3 separate regions of the Homo sapiens genome follow, and all the other regions are linked to region 3. The links are contacts of gene promoters, found by promoter capture Hi-C in blood cells and fetal thymus (Javierre and others, 2016). All regions are on one chromosome and are shown on one strand. Each heading gives the region's core, a stretch centred on a gene start or on the middle of the fragment in contact. The rest is flanking DNA. Distances are from core to core; before and after follow the strand shown.

Evidence for each region. Contacts are between HindIII fragments. The CHiCAGO score rates a contact against its expected background, and 5 or more counts as called.
Region 1: a fragment that was not itself captured here is called in contact with the fragment with the promoter of RTRAF in region 3 in 3 of 17 cell types (total CD8 T cells, naive CD8 T cells and total CD4 T cells); the score reaches 7.4 in total CD8 T cells.
Region 2: a fragment that was not itself captured here is called in contact with the fragment with the promoter of RTRAF in region 3 in 2 of 17 cell types (megakaryocytes and total CD8 T cells); the score reaches 5.4 in megakaryocytes.

Annotation. Positions count from the first base shown.
Region 1 is chr14:52,480,943-52,484,083 of GRCh38, forward strand. It overlaps TXNDC16 (thioredoxin domain containing 16), which reads right to left. Exons shown (of 21, transcript NM_020784.3): 13 at 1,880-2,023; 14 at 1,288-1,347. Among named protein-coding and RNA genes, the nearest start is that of TXNDC16, 70 kb to the right of the region's middle. The HindIII fragment of the contact is 2,463 bases long and covers 480-2,942 here.
Region 2 is chr14:52,290,947-52,294,114 of GRCh38, forward strand. No RefSeq gene overlaps it. Among named protein-coding and RNA genes, the nearest start is that of PTGER2, 22 kb to the right of the region's middle. The HindIII fragment of the contact is 220 bases long and covers 1,463-1,682 here.
Region 3 is chr14:51,988,031-51,991,212 of GRCh38, forward strand. It overlaps RTRAF (RNA transcription, translation and transport factor), which reads left to right and starts at 1,516. Exons shown (of 8, transcript NM_016039.3): 1 at 1,516-1,670. The coding sequence starts at 1,610. It overlaps LOC105370497 (a long non-coding RNA gene), which reads right to left and starts at 2,554. Exons shown (of 3, transcript XR_007064166.1): 1 at 2,489-2,554; 2 at 1-659. RefSeq lists enhancers at 1,301-1,595, 1,936-1,995. The HindIII fragment of the contact is 14,873 bases long and covers 1-2,470 here.

The DNA of each region.
Region 1 (3,141 bases), core at 461-2,960, 490 kb after region 3:
TGGTGTGTGTGTGTGTGTGTATATATATATATGTATATATATATATATATATATATATAATGGAATACTACTCAGCCACAAAAAGGAATGAATTAATGGCATTTGCAGTGACCAGGATGAGACTGGAGACTATTATTCTAACTCAGGAATGAAAAACCAACCATCACATGTTCTCACTCATATTTGGGAGCTAAGCTATGAGGATGCAAGGGCATAAGAAAGACAAAATGGACTGTGGGGACTCAAGGGGAAAGGGTGGGAATAGGGTAAGAAATACAAGGCCACAAATTGGGTGCAGCACAGTATATACTGCTCAGGTGATGAGTGCACCAATATCTCACAAATCACCACCAAAGAATTTACTCATGTAACCAAACACCACCTGTTCCCCAGTAACCTATGGAAATAAAAAAAAATTTTAAAAAAGGAATGGTACACTTAGGGTTGAGTGTCTAGAATCAATTTCTTGAGTTTTCAAAAGCTTCAATGTATAAATAAGTTGTACATCAGTACATAGTTTCCACTAAATGAAACAAAATTTATGAAACTCTATTATTCATTTATCCAACAATTATTGAAAACCAGATATTCTGCAATGTAAGGCAATATGCCAAGCCCAGTAAGCTGATATAAGGCACACTACCTAACCATAAGGAACTTACATCAAGCACACCTAATCCATTATTACCTCTCTTACTAACAGGCCTCCCTCATTTTCCCCTATGTCTTTGCTGAGATGGTAGCACAGATATTTTCAGTTAAAGTCCATTCCTTGGATCTTTATTTGCCCACTATTAAATGAGGTTTCACAGGATGGTTAACATAAAAAGATCCTGGATATTAAAAAGCATTCCATCCATGAGGAGTAAACTATATAGTTTCAAGGACACGGGGATTTTTGATCTCTCATTAGACCATGAGACTGGGTCTTGAATCTGCCAAATTTTTATTTCCAGTATTTAACTGGAGTAACTGGCACAGAGTAGGCACTCATAAATGCTTGCTGAATGACTGACTTAAACCAAAAAGGTTGTTGTATTAACTGTGTAGCCACAAGTACTAAATACATAGGCTTTCTACTTTCTACTAAAGACAGTTCTATGAAGACAAATCAAAGTGAATGCTCCTAAGCACTCTTGAAACTCCTGGTTCATTAACTTAACCCTGGAGACACAAACATAGTAACTGAAATTTTATGTGGTTTTCTATATTTTTTGCATGACATAGTTTTACAAATAGCTACAGCTTAGAATCAGAATAATAAGCATGCATAGCACAGTACACTACCTTTCAGTTTAACTGCCACATCAATATAGGATTGCAAAAATGCCATGGATACTGCTTGCCCTATATGAAAATTAAAAATTCAACAGATATTACATGTATATCTACAAAGCATCCACACTGATATGTAACAAATATACAGATTTATGAGGTTTCCCAAAATTATTGTTAATCAGAAATATTCTACTATACATTTCTCAACATAGTCCAACCACTTAAGAGAGTTTCAAATGCAACTGATTTTCCGCACTTGTACTGCAAGGAATATAGCTAAATGGCTATGATTTGAAGATAAAAGCAATATACTTACTATAAATCTATAATAACTGTTAATATGTTAAAAATCATTAGCGTGAGTCACAATTTTTCAAAATTAATGAACATCTAGTTTAATCATTCACCTTTAATTTGTAAATCAGATATAAATCAATTGCACAATCCCAGAATCAGAAGTAAATGCTTCAATGCACACAGTCTACTTGAGACATACGAAAGCAATTTCATTTTACAACATGCAATACATGGAATGCCAAAAATTAAATCTGGGTTTTTAAATGTCCTAATATGTAACAGTCCTCTAAAGGCTCATACTCACAACCAGCATAGAAGAGTACTATGCTGTCAGAAGCCATCACTGTTGCATTAAATGTTTCTTCTGTTAGTTCCACTGTAAGTTCCAAAGGTAATTTTCTCTTCCTATCTCTGAAAACAGTTTCTGCCACTTCATCATCCTGAACATCTAAAATGTTGGAAAAGAAATTAATTTAAATATTGATGTATAATGAAAACTATTTAAGCTCTTCTCATAGGAAGCATATAATAATTCAGTACTTTATACAAACTTTTGAATTCATCCTATCTTAATAGTTAGGATGCATGATATTTAGAAAACTTTGCAGTTGCTTAACTGACTCTGAGATGCTTCCTGACCTAGAAGTTGGGAAGTTTTAGTCAATTTCAAAATTAAAATTTGTTCTACAAAGAATATTAATAGTGCCATTTTGTTTATTTTGCCTCTACTATATGCCAAGCATTATGACAGGCACTAGGAAAACTGGTAAACAAAACAGACATAGTCCTGACCACATGGAACTTCTATCTATGGAAAAGTCAGATAAACTGATCACTGAATAAATATATAATTATAAATTATGATCAATTTATGAAGAAAGGTAAAGGATACACTGAGAGATTATAACAGGGCTATTTAGATTGGGAAGCCCAAAGTCTGCCAGGTAGAGAATCAAGAAAAGAATGTTTTAGACAAAGACAATAACATATACGAAAGCTCTGAGACATAAAAGAGTTGAGCACATACAAGGCTGAGGGAAGGCAAATTTGACTAAGACAAGATGGGGCTGAAAGAATAAACAGCATGAGAAAACTCTAGGCTAGGCAGTGGCTAGATCATAAGAGGTCACATGAGCCAAGAAGTCTGGATTTTATCCAAAAAGCCTCAAGTTATGAGTGGATTCTGAATATGTGAAACCCTTCCTTTAGATAGACCAATCAATAGACTGATAGATTCATCCATCCATCCATCCATCCAACCATCCATGTACCTTCAAAAATACATTTGGATTCATAAATATTCTGTTGGAAGTTTGTAGAGATTGTACGGTAAGACAGATGGAGCATATAACTTGATTAAAGGATAAAGCTTCTTTATGAACATGAAAACATGAACATGAAAAGGAAAATAAAACTCAGGTAGGCAGAGAAGAAAGGCAGTGGTGGCATAAAGAGCAAAGAGAATGGCATGAGCAAAGGCACAGTGGCATGTAAGAGCATGGTGCAATCAGAAGTTCAAACACTGACTGGATATACGATGGTATTAAGAATTGTTAATTTTTTAGA
Region 2 (3,168 bases), core at 323-2,822, 300 kb after region 3:
TTGGGGTGATTTTTTTCAGCAGTCATAGATAACTAATATAATTCATTGAATTATAATTAAATTAATGGGCATCCCATTATATATGAATCCATAGCATATTTTGTTGACAAATATGATACAAGAAATATTTATAAGCTCTGATTATATACTAGGCTACAAGAAAAATCTCAATAAATATAAGAAAGCAGAAATTAACAGTTTATTTTCTTCGATTAGGAAATACATTTTTATTTAAGTTAAAACCAAAAAGTCTCTCTGATTACATGGAAATTTTTCTTCTTTTTGTATGCATTATACATACTAAATTGTGTGTACAACATGCATATGCAGTTAAATAGTAATTATAAAGTAAATATCCATGTAGACATTGTGCAGGTCAAGAAACGGAATACTGCCAGTACCAGAAGCCTCCTGTGTGCCTTCCCTGATCACAGTCCCTCCCCCTCACCGAGATAAACCCTGTTCCGACTTTTAAGAAATCATGCTTTTGCTTTTCTTTATCTTACCCCATGTGTGCATCATAATATATGTATTCAGTGTCTTTTTCTCAAGCTTAGTAATGTGTCTTAGCTTGGATTCCTCACATGCAGTCTAGGACAAAGAGTCAGGTGCATGTGACCTGTGGAGCTCCTGCTTTCGGGAGAAAAGCGGTGAAAGCAGCAGGACAGGGCAGGGACGGAATCAAGGCAAGGATGAGGTCTCAGCTCTGCCTGATCTCAAGGGGGGGCTCTGGAGCTTGAATAGCACCACACTGTTGGTCCCACCAAGACACTTGTGAAAGCCTGTTACTAAGTTTTTGGCCCACGTGTTCCCGGTGGTACCCTTTGAGCCAAGGGCAATTTTCCAGAAAAGGGGCCAGCTCTGAGCCATTAGAAACCATAACCCACAGGGGCTGGGGGCAATGGCTTGGAAAAGGAGATCTGGATGATATTCACCATATAGTATGTTTGTGAGATTCATACTTTTTGTACGTGTAGCTGAGTTCCTATATTTTCATGGCCAAATAGTATTCCATGGTATGAATATATCGCATGCTGTCAATGGACATTTGGGGTATTTCTAGATTTGCCTACTAGAAATAATGCTGTTTTATGATTCAAGGGGCAAAAAAAGAAAAGAAAAATAAACAATGCTGTTTTAACTGTTCTTATTATGTCTTGTGTTGGACATGTGTACGAGTATCTCTAAGGCATACATCTAGGAGTGGGATTGCAGGGTTATAGGATATGTGCACCTTTTATTATATCATAAAAATTGTTTTCCAATTTACACTAACACCAGCATTGTTTTCATTGCTCTACATCTTTGCTAACACTTGTATTGTTAGATTTTTAGTTTTAGCCATTTTGGTAAGTTTGTAATGGTATTTCATTGAGGTTTTAATGTATTTTTCATATTAATAATGATGATATTGCACACCTTCTCATACATTTATTGGCTGTTTGGAAATTCTAGTTTATAAAGCTTCTGTTCAAGTCTTTTGCCTTTTTAAAAAATATAATGTTTGTTTTTCATATTGATTTATAGATGTCCTAACTACTGTTACTTTGTCAGTTTTATGTGTTGGAAAAATCTTTTCCCATTCTTTAATCTGTCTTTTCACTCTCTTTTTGATGACTTTTAATTAATAGAAATTTTTATTTTATTAGAATCTAATTTCTTAAACTTTTCTTTTATGGCTAAGCTTTTCATGTTTTATTTGAGAAATGTTTTCTAAACCTAAAATCATGAAATATTTTTCTATACTACTTTATAAAAGCTTTATAGTTTTGCCTTTCACTCTTGAATTTGAACCCACCTATGATTTATTTGGTGTATGGTGTGATATAAATATCCAGTTTTGTACTTTCACCATATAAATAACCACTTGTCCAAGTATCATTTATCAAAAAGTTTATCTTTTCCCCATTGATCTTAAATATCATATCTGTCACATATGAAGTTTCCATATTTGTATGTTTGTTTCTATTCCATTGGCCTGTTGTCTTAGGTACATTAATGCTTCCACCTAGCTCTCTTTGAAGGGGGCCCTTTTAATCTTAGTGCTTTAGTTCCACCAAAACCTGCTGGGATTTTCACTGGAATTGCACTGAATCTATTGATTAATTTTGTATACTTTTCAATTTATTTATGTCCTTTTCAATGTCTCTTTATAAAAGTTTCAAAATTTTACTGAAGTATAACATGCATACAGAGAAATATACGAATTATAAGTAGACAGTGAAATGAATTTTCACAAAGCAATACACCTAAGTTACTAATATCCAGATTAAAAAAAAAAAAAACAAAAAACACAGAATCCCAAACCCCTCCAAAATCCCTTTTTTAGCTACTGACTTCACCCACAAGAGGAAACCACCTTGAGTTCTAATACATGAATTTTGTCCACTTTTGAACTTTATATAAATGGAATCAGTATGTACTTGTTTTCTTTCACTCAGCAGTATGCTTGTGAAATCCGTCCGTGTTGTTCAGAGTTATATTTTGTTTATTCTCTTTGCTGTAGTGTTCTACTGTACGAATTCCACCGTATGAATTTACCACAATATATTAATCTATCTATTGCAGATGGACATTTGAGTTATTTCTAATTGAACCTATTACAAATAGTAATAAGCAGCCGGGCGCACTGGCCCATGCCTGTAATCCCAGCATTTTGGGAGGCCAAGGTGGGTGGATCACCTGAGGTCAGGAGTTTGAGAACAGCCTGGCCAACATGGTGAAAACCCGTCTCTACTAAAAATACAAAAAAATAAAGTTAGCCAGGTGTGGTGGCAGGCACCTGTAATCCCAGCTACTCAGGAGGCTGAGGCAAGAGAATCGCTTGAACTCGGGAAGCGGAGGTTGCAGTGAGCTAAGATCACGCTACTGAACTCCAGCCTGGGCAACAAGAGCGAAACTCTGTCTCAAAGAAAAAAAAAAAAAGTAATAAGCATCCTTTCACACATCTTTTGGGAACATACATATGCATTTCTATTAAGGATATAACTGAATGTAATTGCTAGGTCATAAGTTTTGCCCTTAGTAAATACTGCCAAGGGGTCTTCCAAAGTGGATTGTGTCAGTTCATACTTCCACAGCAATGTATAAAGGCCGAGTTGATCCACATGCTCATCAATACTTCCTATTGTCTTTCTAGTTCGGTTTAGCCGTTCTGGGGGTATCGAG
Region 3 (3,182 bases), core at 266-2,765:
AAAGTCTCACTATGTTGCCTAGGCTGGTCTCAAACTCCTGGGCTTGAACTATCCTCCCACCTCAGCCTCCCAAAGTGCTGGGACTACAGGCATGAGCTTCTGCACCTGGCCTGTACTTCTTTGTAGTACATTTTATATTTCTTGTAATTCACTTACTCTTTCTAACTCCAGATTATAAGTATTTATTTACACATCTATATTTGTCATTATACTTAAACTTCCTGAAAATAGAGACTGTAGTTTACTCATTTGTATGCTCCTCAGATCCTAAGTGTTTAATTAAAATCTTAATTAATGAAATGAAATGAAACGTACATAGTTGGCTTACCCCCAAGAATTTCAATAGCTCCCCTTAGCTTGCCATGAGAGGCTTTTCCTTATCAGAGCCCTGCCTTTGTCTATAGTCTTATCAGCTGTCATTCCCTCTCACCCTCCAGCCCCTATAAGCTCTAGTCCCTCTGGGCCATGCTGTTGCTCATTTCTTGCCTTTATACATCCTCTTCCCTCAAACTAGGTTACCCTTTTGACTGCATGGTGAATGCCTCACCATCTTCAAGCCTTAGTTTATACTTATCTGTTTATTGTTTCCCTCATTAGCCTTTTAAACTCCATGAAAATAGGGGCCTGGTCTGTCTTGTTCACTGCTCTCTCTCCACTGTCTGAAAAGCAAGTAGAGACTGGATCAGGAAAGATCTTAAATACAATAAGGAGTTTTGATTATTTCTAGGGGGTAACCAGGAACCACTAAAACATAAGCAGAGAAAGTTATGTACAGGTTTTTGCTTTAGAAAAATCTCTCTCATCGCTGTATGGAGGAATGGTTTGGAGAACGCAGGACTGGCCCTAAGAAATCAATCAGATAATTAGAGTAAGCAAAAGTGATGAGGATCTGATCTGTGGCTGTATCAGTGGGGTCCGAAAGGAGGTGAGGGATTTGAGAGTTAGGAGAGACAGAATGGCAGGAATTGGTGACCTACTGGATGCTGTGACCGAGGGTGAGGGGGAGTGAGGGACGATCTCGGCTTCAGATTTCACTCTGGCTGAGGATATCTGGAACGATCGCATCGTATTAACAATTGTATGTTTACCTGTGGATCACTCCCAATTAGTCTGAAAGCATCTTACTATAGGGACCTTGCTTTGTAGTCTTTGTATTACCAGTGTTAGAAGAGCACCTGTTATGTAGGAGGAGTAATAAAATGAATGAATGCACTCAAAACACTAAACAGTAATTCTGTAATCCAACGGGAGGTACAGCGAATACCAAAAGCCTACATATACTATTCTCTGCATGCTATAGCAAGAAAGAAAGGAAAGTGGCTTCCCGGTGGTTTTCTGCCTATTGTACAACCAGGAAGCTGACAATAAAGTTTATTTGAGCGTCGACGTGCGCCGACGTGGCCCCGCCTCCCCAGCCGGAGCCGCGATTGGTGGGCATTTGCCGGCGGCCACCGCTTTTAAGCCACGATTGGCGAAGGCCGCCGTCATTTCGGAGCGACTCAGCGCCTGCCCGCCCTCTCGCCGCGTCGCCGGTGCCTGCGCCTCCCGCTCCACCTCGCTTCTTCTCTCCCGGCCGAGGCCCGGGGGACCAGAGCGAGAAGCGGGGACCATGTTCCGACGCAAGTTGACGGCTCTCGACTACCACAACCCCGCCGGCTTCAACTGCAAAGGTGAGGCGGCGGCCTCAGCCCGGCCGCGTGTCCCTGACCTGGGCGGAGGTCCCAGCCTCAGTGCCCGCACCCCACCTCCCCGTCGGGACCCTCGGCGGCCTGGTTTCCGCCGGCAGCCTCCGGGCCCCTCTCCTCTGGGTCGCCACGTACCTCGGCTCTTCGCCGCCCCTTCCCGCCTTTAAAGCCCTCTCACCTACTCCTGTCTCGGCATGTTACTTTCTGCACTTGCTTAACTCCAAGCATCACGTAACTACCTTCTCTGTACATAAAAGGGAGAGCATTCGTCTTTCTCACTCACTATTCAACTCCATGGTTCCCTGGGTAATTAGGCGATACCTTGAGCACCTGCTAATTATGGGCCAGCGCGGTGCTGGATTCTGAGGAAGGTGCTGAGTAACTTGAAGACTAGTTCACTGCCTGCCAGGAGCTAAAGGGACGAGGGGTGGAAGCAATCAGAACCCACTGAGCAGTTTGAGACAGTACACAATGAAATCAGGACCGATCACAGTGGGAGGGTAAGCGCGTGTAGTAACGGGCTAGTTGTGTTATGTGGTGTTGCAAAAAAGTTAATAGCAGATGAGTGGGAAGGTTGAATTGTGAATACAAAGGTATTTGGGATTTTACAGCATTAGAATTTTAAAAAGTAATAACGTTGCTACTCACTGTAACTAAACTGCTACCCACCACTACTCGTTTCCTTTGTATAGTTGTGGCCTGTGATAGACTGGTAAGTTTGAAAGTGATCAAGTATAACTTGTGATACTCAGACCACTGTGTAATTCTCAAGACCTTATAATGGAAGCTTGAATTTGACTCACAAATTGAAAATAATTTCTAAGCAGGATGACAGTGTTTTGTTGATCGCCTGTAGAAGCATATCAAATTATAATCTATTGTTTTTCTACTTTAACAAAAAAGTATCAGTGACAATAGAGCCTTGTTCTGGATTGGAATCTTTGAGTCTCAATGTTCTTATCTGTAAAATGGGATATTACCTACCTCAAAAGAGGTATGGGGAGGATTAAACGAAACAATTATGCACTTAATGTGCAGTTAACATTCCATGACAACAGTTGTCACAGTGTCTTTTTTGTCATTTAATTTCTTTTACTTATTATTTTGTTGTATATTTTACTTTATTACTTTGCTATAAATTTAACCTTGCCCTCCTTCCCCTTTCTGTCCGCAAAGGAACTGGAATATTAATATGTAACACTTAAATAGCAAAACTATGTGCCAGGCACTGTTTTTATCCGTATTTATTTTATTTAAGAAACTTCTTAAATAAAACAACTTCTTTTAATCTTCATAACTCTATGAGGTAAGTTCTATTAGCACCCTCATTTTGTAGCTGAAGAGTCTGAGGCACAGAAAATGTGGGTGATTATCCCAAGTTCACACAACCAGTAAGTATCTGGACCCAGGATTTGAACAGATCATTGTTAATCTGTACTTTCAACTCCAGAATCTGTACTTTCAACTCCCTCTTTTGGTTCAATTAATTTAGTATTT